2 separate regions of the Homo sapiens genome follow, and region 1 is linked to region 2. The links are contacts of gene promoters, found by promoter capture Hi-C in human tissues and cell types (Jung and others, 2019). All regions are on one chromosome and are shown on one strand. Each heading gives the region's core, a stretch centred on a gene start or on the middle of the fragment in contact. The rest is flanking DNA. Distances are from core to core; before and after follow the strand shown.

Region 1 (4,903 bases), core at 1,513-4,012, 46 kb before region 2:
CAGTACCAGTCCTTTGTGTATGTGTGTAAGTGTGCACATGGATGAGCCGCACAGACATTAACTGTGAGTCGTCTCTGGTCATTCCTGATACACATGGGCTGGGGACCATCTGCTTCATGTATATGGGGTGGGGGCCATCCTTCAACTAGAAGACTCCTCTACTTCTTTCCATCCTGGAGGGGCAGGGTGTGGTGGTGGTAGTAGGAAAGAGACAAGGAGGGTGGAGTGGCGATCAGTGGGTTGAGATAACATCAGAGTGGGGAGCCCAAGAAAGAGACTGCAAGTATGACAGAGGGCAGCAGGGCTGTCTGGTCTTGGACACATCACTTCCTTGACCTATTCCTTTGCTTTGGACAAGGTTTCTAAGCATTCAGAGTCCTTGGGAATCGTGATACCCTTACAGCAGGAAGGAGGAAAGTCAGACTTCCTGAGGTACCTCCCAGGCACCTGAACTAGTGGGAAATAAGTAGATGGTCTCTTTTCCTTTTCTCATACCTATCCCAAATCCTAGCTCTCAGGAGCATGTGATAACTTCGCCTCGGATTTCTTTCCAAAGCAGTCATGCCAAGGATCTGGAAGCTGTGGGCACCCCTCCACCGCCTGCCACTCTGTGCTCTATAACTCAGAGCTTCCAACTCCTTTTGCCCTCCCATGTTGGTCTGGGTTAGGAGCACCTGCCAAGCCTGGAGCTTTTTGCCTAACACAGCAGGAGGGGCTGAGGTTAGGCCACAGGAAGAATTTCAGGCCTAAGAGACACAAATTCTGAAGATTAGTGAAAGTAGGCCCAAGTCCCGGCTCTCTTTTTTCCCTCTGACTCCTCAGGATTGCCTTGTGCCCCTCCCTTGTCTCCTAGATCCCTGAACCAGCTGGCCTTCCTCCTCCTCCTCCCTACCCACCTACTACACCTGCCTCCTCCAACACCCAACAGATACAGGTGTCGGGCCCTGTCTGTGCCAGTGGGAGGCAGTTCTCCTTGGAACTGCATCCCCAACCTCCACAGTCCAGACTCTTGAGCCCTTTTTCCTGGGTCTGAGGTTATCCTGGCTGATGCCCTGCCTCCAGGCATAGCAGCCTTTCCCCTGACTCCCAGGGAACACAACCCATGCTGATGGCTCTCCATCCTCCTCATCCTCTACAGATTTGTGAGGCTTCACCAAGAGCCTTCCCGTAGTCACACCTTAGAGCTCTGAGGTGGTGGCTCACCCCAGGCCAGAGAGAGGACGGAGACGCAGGTACCTAACCCTATCTCCACATTGGGAAGCTGAAGTGGTAGGGAGAGTGTGTACCCCTGCCCGCTTCCCTTCACATCAGACCTTATTCTACCAAACAGCTGGAGCAACAAAAATGACAAAAAACACTCTCTCCACCTCATCCCAAGAGGTCACAAAGTTTTTTTCAGGTTGGGGGTGGCCAGCCAGAGCCTGGCAGCTTGTTGAGAGAAACAGAGAACTGACCTTGTGGGAAATTGATATTCTTTAGGAATGGGAATGTCTAGGCAAATGGACAGAGATTACAAAGAGATGGAGCAATAGGCAAATAAGCAAATATTTGGCAAACAAGGAGTAGTAAGGACCACGGGTGGCCACCCTCTCCACACATACGCTCACTCTCACCGAGGCATACACTTGCTCACACACTCTCATACACTGCCCCCTCTGCCAGGCTGCTCTGAGCTAAAAATAGACCAGGCTAGGAGGCTGGGCCAGGGCCCTGGACTCCCACCCCTTGAGCCAAGGCTGTCACAGTGCTTCTCCCTTGCATATTGTTCAGCTTGGACCCCAGCCCCTGGAAAGACTCCACCTCTGGCCTCCCAGTGCTGCTGGCTCAGTCCCACCTGGACTCCCCACTCCAAAGGGCAGGAGTTGGGAATAAGGGCCATGTGCGGAGACTTGAAGAAGGGAGCCTCAGCCTACAACTCGACCACCCCTCTCCCCTCTCCCTGGAGCCCCAGCCCTCTCAGTGGTCCTCAGTCCCTTCCTGTTATCACTTTCGGAGCCCAGCAAGGTGGCCCCCAGTTAGGAGGGGACAGGGAGAGCTGTTTCTCCTCTTCCAACTCCCACCCTTCCAGGCTCCCTCTCCATTACCGACCCCTCCCCAGGCCCCTCCCGCACTGCTGCTGATTCCCTTCAGCGCCACCACCAAGCTCAGAAACTCTAGTGGGGGTTGACTGGGTGGGGGATGCAGGGTTGTTTAAGGAGGGAGGGGTCGTGTCCTCAAGCAGGCCCCCTCCCCCAGGACTGGGGAGGAAGAGAGCGACTCTCGCGGGGCCAGGCATCGAGTGGAGGCGCTCTTCCTTCGGTCAGTCTCAAAGAAGCACAGATTCGAGATGTGGCTCCGACGGTGGGGGAGGGGACAGAAGACCCCCCCCCGCCCCCCGCAAACTGAGCGTTCGTCCTCAAAAGGGCGCACTGCTAAGGGAGGACTAGGCAGGGATCCTGGGTCCCACCAGTCCAGGGGTCCCTCGTCCTTGGCTGGGCGAGTGCCCTGCCGCCCCGCCCTGCTCCGCACCTGCTCCGCCGCCTCGGGGTCAAGGTGCGGCTCCAGCAGCGGGACCGTGAACTGGATCTTTCGGGGGCTGTTGTCTTGCTCCATGGCTGGGGCGGCGGCCGGTGGGCCCGCGCTGCGGCGGGAGGGAAGGCGGCGGGACTCGGGGCTGGGGCGGGCGCGCTCCCTCTCCGCTCCGCTCCGGCCCCGGCCCCAGCCCGGCGCGCTCGGCTCCCGGCTCCCGGCACAGCGCTCCCAGCTCGCGGCTCCGGGGACTCTGCCGCCGCCGATTGGCTCCGCACCCGCCCCTCCCGGCCCCCTCCCCCTCCCCCAGCCCGGAACCTTAACCCCGTCGTGGCTGCACCGGCGGCTGCGGGGGTCACCGCCCCGCGGGCCGCCGAGTCCGGGCGTGGCCCGGGAGCCGTCGTAGTGGACAGCTCAGGCAGATACCTCAGTGTCCTCGGAGTTTTGGGCAGGGCGTTGGGGTGGGGAGTGGCTAGGAAGAACTTCTCCTAGCCGGAGCAGGTTGTTGGGGCTAGGAAAGTAGAGGGGCGCTGCAGGAGAGGAGACTAAACGCGAGAGGAAGATTGCATTTATGATTTTAAAGGGGGTTGTATTATAGAGAAAAGATGGAAAGGGGATTTAGGCATGCAGCAGGAGGGATTAAGGTTAGACTTCGAGAGGGACTTTCCTTTGCAAGGAAAACACTAGGCGGAGGTAAAAACTTGGAGGGAAATACGAAGTCTGCACACCCGTCCTGTGTTCCCTCAGTGCCAGGGAGAGGAAACTGAAGACTTCAGAGGGTCTCCGGAGGGCGCGTTTCTCTCGAAGTGCCTGTGGGAGTGGGTGGAGGGCTTGGGGAGAGAGGACCATCTGGGACTCGACAAAAGGAATAACGATGGTGGGGAGCCAATCCTGCTTGTGAAATCGAGTTCTCTTTCTGCTTGCTAAATTAGGGGATGGTAAAGTAGGTGAAAGGCCTGCAAGGGGAAAATGCCTGGGGAGGGAGAGAGAAACTCCTTTGGTGGGGTGGCTTGTTTACAGATAGGGTTGGTTTCTAATTTCACTATTGGCAGGATACTGAAAACGAGCTGCTGTAACTGAAGGAATGGAGGTTAGACTATGGGAAGAACTGACTAGTTTGGTGGAAGACTAAGATGCCAGTCAATACGAGCCAGTGAGGGAGACAGGATATTCACAGGAGCTGGTGTGCTCGGTCTAAGGACTGGGGATCACTAGATGGGGGAGGGGATGTGCTGGGCACTGGGGAGGGGTAGGGCTGGATGCATCTTTTCGGGAGGAGAAGGTGGAGAGAAGAACTGGGGATGGGGAGGAGGGCACAGGGAGTCCTGGAAGAGGGGAAGGGGTCTGTCTCTTTAGCCTTAAACCAAGCAACTGGCAAGTGCCATACAGATTCATGCCTGGTTCTTGGAGAACCATATGGTCATCTTCTCCTCTAAGGTGTCAGCCTCAACTCTCAGTTGCCTCCTCTCCTGGGCAGCCCTTTCCAGACCTTGATTTCACAAGGCCCCTTCCCCTCTAACCTCACAAAATAACTTGTCCTGCCTTCCCCCCAGCCATATCTTTTTACACATGTCGGGCTCAGTTTTCTCAGGGTAAGGCTGGGGTTATGGGGACCCAGTGGGCCAGCTGGACCTCTGTCTGCAGGTTAACTGGCCCCTGTTTTGCTGTCACCTGGACTCCAGGATTGACTCCTGACACCCAGCCTGCACTTGCAGGGCCCCTTTGCTCTCTGGTGTGGCAGGGCCAGGTGGAAAACAGCTGGTTGGGCTTCCCCGTCTCCATTCCCAACCTTTGCGCAGATCCCCCCACAAGAAGTGACAGTGGAGAAAGAGATCGTGAAGGCCCTGAAGCAGAGAGGATAACGGTTGGGGGCTAGGGAGATACCTGGCTCATTAGGGCCCAGTTGCTTGCTCTGGCCTCCTTCCTACTCACCCCACCTCCTAACCACACATCCACAGAGCAGGATCCCAAATATCCTCTAAATAGGTGACTTGTCTATTCCCCATCCCATTCTACCAGGACCATGGGATGTGAAGCCAGGATTCCCACATCCCTATGTCTGGGGACTCAGGCTTCTCTCATGAGCCTCCATCTCATTTGTAAAACAGACAGAGGATCCCACCTCCTAGGGTTGAGTATCATCTTGGGTAGAGTACCTGGTGCATAGAAGGTCACGGTTAATTGTAGCTGCTGGTTTTATTGTTATTTCCTGGCAGGACGGCAGAGTTGAGGGGTGGTCACCTCTCAGAGTGGTTACCTCTCCACCCCCACCCCAGACATCCAGGCTGCCTAGTCCTCTTTCGTATTCCGTGCTCTCCCTCAAACTTTGGTCTGGTCATGGAAATTCCTCCCCAAGTCTCTCACCCACCCTATGTTGCCTTCTCAAGTCCCGGAT
Region 2 (4,686 bases), core at 164-2,663:
CCTTCCTCCTGACTGGCCCCTGGCTTGGTAGGCTTCCCTGAGGTGTCTGTCATGGAGCTGGCCATGGTCAGAGGGGCTCAACCTCCTCTGTGGTGGAGGAGGACAGTATGTGGGGGTTATGGGGCCATATTTGAGCGATTTGCAGGATTGAGACCCCAGCCTTGATTCCCTTTATTCTTTCAACACAACATTTATGCAAAGCTCTGTGCCAAGAGATGGAGGTGCAGTGCTGAAGAGGGCAGACAAGACCCCTGCCCTGACAGAGCTTACATCTGTCCTTTTACGAAATTATTTAATGGCTGGTGTGACAGTGCTGGAAGGGAACGTGCAGCCTGGTGCGAGAAGGGCACATGGATCTGATTTGTTCCGCATGTGCATGGAAGGCCTTTTTGGGGAATTATATGTAAACTGAGATTTTCTAGATGAAAAATCATTGGCCAGGTGACATTAGAGTTGGTTGGGGGAAGGGGCCAGGGAGAGGGAAAGCATTCTAGACGAGGAAAGGACAAGAAGGAAGATCCTGATGTTCAAGGAACAGCAGGATCATCATGGCCCAAATAGTGCTTCTGTGGATCAAAAAAGGCATCCCAGCAGGGCACGGTGGCTCACGCCTGTAATTCCAACACTTTGGGAGGCCAAGGCAGTCGGATCACCTGAGGTCAGGAGTTCGAGACCAACCTGGCCAACATGGTGAAACACCGTCTCTACTAAAAATACAAAATTAGCTGGGCAAGGTGGCATGAGCCTGTAGTCCCAGCTACCCAGGAGGCTGAGGCAAGATAATCGCTGGAACCCAGGAGGTGGATGTTGCAGTGAGCAGAGATCGTGCCACTGCACTCCAGCCTGGGCAACAGAGGGAGACTCGGTCTCAAAAAAAAAAAAAAAAAAAAGGCATCCCTTCCTCCTAAGAGACACAGCCAGGGGCCAGGCTCACTGCTTGGCAAGTAGAGTGTCGGCCAGATTTTAGCTTCTACCACTCCTTGCCTGGGCACCCTCGTGTAGGGGACACCCTGCTCAACTACATGCAGGGGACACCAGAGAAGCCAGTGTAGCTGAGGCATAGTGGGTAAACAATGGTGTGTGAGGAGATGAGCTGGGAGGGCAGGCAGAGGCCAGAGAGTTCTGGGTTCCTCTGGCCAGTGGGGTGCAGAGGCCACGTGTGGAGAACTGGGAGAGGAGTCACTTGCAGAGGCAGGGAAACCAGAATAGCACTGAGAGAGGAGGAGAGGGGTGAAGGCAGGAGTGAGGGGCTCCTTGGACTGGGAGGACTCTTGTGGGGCGCAGAGGAAAGGCCATACTCACCAGCATAGACCAGGGCCCCTGCTACAGCTGCCAAGAAGAGGAGAGTGGTAAATTTCATTCTTTGGGATGAGGAGTGAGTATAACCACAGAATCTGCAGAAGGTCTGGGGAATAAGGATGCTGAAATTGCTGGGCCCTTTTAAGGATATCAAGGGCCAATGGGAACCAAGCCTGGAGAGGTGTGACTTCCGCATCCTCCTCCCCTTCTTCCCCAAACTGTCACCTGCTAAGTCAACAAGGGCTAGGTTGGGCTGGCTGATACCTGGGATCCTTGCAGGCAGGTCCTGGATAGGAGCCTTTCTCTAACTCCCAGCCATCCCTTTTCTTTCTCCCTCCTCCCTTCCCCACCACACCTGCCCTCTGGGTTCACACCCCTGGGCTCTCAGGGACGGTAGGTAGAGCACATTTCACTTGGGGAGATTCTGGGATGTGTCTGTTGAGGGTTCTGGTAGAGAAATCTTAATCTTGTCATCTCTCCAGGAGGAGGTTGAGGGCTCAGGGGATTACATTGTCCACCTTCTGTCCCAGTCTACATAGGACTCAGTGCAGGGTTTGAAGGTTTCCCCAAACTAAGTGAGCCCGTTTCCTTGGGAGACCACACCTAGAACACTTGAGGCCTGAGTTCCTGGCTGCTTTCTCCCCATGAGGGGATGGGTTTGAAGGCGTGTGTGCCTTCTCTGGAGTTGTTCTCTGTTCTTGACATTATCCAGCCCCTAAAAAGAACTCCTCCAGGCTCACATAGGCCTGTCAATCTCTGTCTTCAGGCCTACTCAATGGGACCCCACATTTCTGAGAGAATCTCCTGGTCAAAGCATGATGGTGGTTCACTGAAATTGGAGCTTGGTTCTGACTTCAAGTGGGGAGCTGACCCATGGTGTGAATAATCCAGAAAAGCAGATTATTCTAAAGAAGCTTCTCTTTGACTTGGCGTTTCTTCCTTTCCTGATCTGGGACTCTAGAGGTCTGGATTTTGAGTTCTGGCTTTGTCATATGAAAATGTTAGGATTTGAAAAGTGATAGGATTTTTATTTGTTGTCTAGGAGTTGTGGCTCCTATGTACAGCATAGTGGTGGAGATTAAGTGGGATAATATACGGCAAAGCATTTTTTTAGACAGCGAAGTTCTATGGAGTTGTGTGGGGTTCTTGTACCATCTTTCCAAGTAGGTTTTTGTCCAGGCTGGTGCTAAATGCTAGATATTAATAGAACGGGCCGTGGAGCAGGAGTCAGTTGAGGGGCTGAAGGGTGGAGAATAAGGTGCTGGATGTCAATTTGTGACTTTCCCCTTGCTTGGTGTTGGCATTCACCCAGCCCCATGTGGGCTGATTCCGGAGGCTTCTCTGCCTCATGGTAGCTCTGAAGATGAGTGTGAGAAGGGGGTATTGAAGAGTTTTCAACATGAGGGTGTTTTGGGTGCCAGGGTTTAGAACATTAATCTTTTCAGGAGATAAAGGAAGATAAAATTAATGGGGTGGGACATTAAAGCCTTGGCAATTGCTACCTGCCTGAGGGTCTGGGCCTGGGAGCCTTGAAGGTGGTGGTGGCCTTACCTGGAATGGGGAAGGCTGAAGAACAAGAGAAAGTTTTGATGGCACCAGTGCCCTGGGTATGTGCACATACGTGTGTGCACGTGTGTGTACACTGCAGAAGGAGAAGTCCTGCAGATCCCAAACAGATCTAGATCCCGAGCAGTCTCCATGAGCACATTAAAAAAGTCAACAGGAGCAAATTATGCTATTTGCACAAGACTTTTCTAAGAGGAAATGAGAACTTTGGCGTCAACACTAGAACTGTCACAGAGCAGGGTCTTTCCAAATGTCACCGCATAGCCCTTTCCTCTCCCAAATCTTCCTCCTGGCCTCAGTAATTAAAGAGGCAAGCATTTACATAAATAGGGATGAGGTGAAAGTAAGGACATTTGTTTTATAGAAAATTTTCATTATTCTATAACAGGGCCCAGAGAAATGTTACCCCAAATTATAGAGCCTGGGAAAGAATTGGGTGCATAGATTAAAGAGGCAGACCTCATGGATATGGGTGAGAGGCTGCTCTGTGCAATGTCTTGACGGACCTCATGGATATGGGTGAGGGGCTGCTCTGTGTGATGTCTTGTTTTCTAGGTTATCTGACCTCCATGATGACTGTCAGTTCGCTGATCTGTGTCTTGTCTCATGGGCTGCTCGTTGTACCTCTCTCCCCTCTGCCTCAGGTTTATTCTCTCTCATCTCTGCACTGGTCTGGAAGGATGCCTCTATGGGCTGTATCACCTGGGCTCCCATGCCCTCTAGCTTCGAGTTGAGTTTGGCCAATGGGAGACACAGGTGGGAGATGGGAGGGTGGGAAAAGGGAGAGATTAAGGCATTTGTTCCTCCTGCTCCCTCTCTTGCTTTGGCATGTGTGGTAGGACGACTTCAGAGATAGCTCCTGGTGATGCCTACGTCTTGGCATTGGTGCCCTGCTGTAATTTCCTCTGCTTAACTGGGCTGGGTCTCGAGATTCACTCCTAACAAATAGAAGATGGCAAAGTGATGAGGTAGTCAGTTCTGAGACTATGACTTTAGTCTTGTTTACACACACTCTGTCTCTGGATCTTCTCAGCTTGCTCTGATGAAGTGAGTGGCCATGTGTGAGGCTGTCCTGTGGAGAGACCTACGTGGCAAGAAACCGAGGACAGCCTCCAGCCTGTAGCCAGTAAGGAGCCGAGGCCCTTAGTCCAGCTATCTGTGAGGAACTCAACCCTGCCAGCTACCACGTGACTGAGCTTGGAAGTGGGTCTTTCCTCAGCTGAGTTTTGAGGTGACCGCAGCCTCGATGATACCTTGACTGCAGCCTCATTAGAGACTCTGTGTCTGAGGGCGCATCTGTACCTGGACTGCTGATCCATAACAACTGTGGATAAGAAATCATGTGTGAAGCCACCAAATGTTTGAATAATTTTTACAGCCACGGATACTTAATGCAGCATGGTGTGGCAATGGCTGTTTCTCTCTGACTGCAGCTTCTGTCTGGTCCCTGTTTCAGAGCGCCATCTCTTGTTGTCAGGTGACATTATTCACCCCCACCCCCCAACACGCTGCTTCAGACTTCCTGCTGTTGCTAGTCCATACTTGAATCTCTGTAAATAATAGATACATTTTTCCTTAAAGAACCTTTTTTAAAAAAAGCCCTCCTGAGAACCACAAACCACTGCTCAATGAAATAAGAGGACACAAACAAATGGAAGAACATTCCATGCTCTTGGATAGGAAGAATCAATATCGTGAAAATGGCCATACTGCCCAAGGTAATTTAGAGATTCAATGCCATCCCCATCAAGCTACCAATGACTTTCTTCACAGAAGTGGAAAAAACTACTTTAAAGTTCATATGGAACCAAAAAAGGGCCT

The links. The method cuts DNA at HindIII sites, captures the fragments that hold promoters and counts their contacts. A contact is called where the count stands out against the background at its distance.
Region 1: the fragment with the promoter of PPP1R1A here is called in contact with the fragment with the promoter of LACRT in region 2 in 1 of the 25 tissues and cell types used here (liver).

Annotation. Positions count from the first base shown.
Region 1 is chr12:54,585,897-54,590,799 of GRCh38, forward strand. PPP1R1A (protein phosphatase 1 regulatory inhibitor subunit 1A) reads right to left here and starts at 2,763. Exons shown (of 7, transcript NM_006741.4): 1 at 2,509-2,763. The coding sequence starts at 2,592. The HindIII fragment of the contact is 17,679 bases long and covers 1-4,903 here.
Region 2 is chr12:54,633,482-54,638,167 of GRCh38, forward strand. LACRT (lacritin) reads right to left here and starts at 1,414. Exons shown (of 5, transcript NM_033277.2): 1 at 1,303-1,414. The coding sequence starts at 1,360. The HindIII fragment of the contact is 5,914 bases long and covers 1-3,488 here.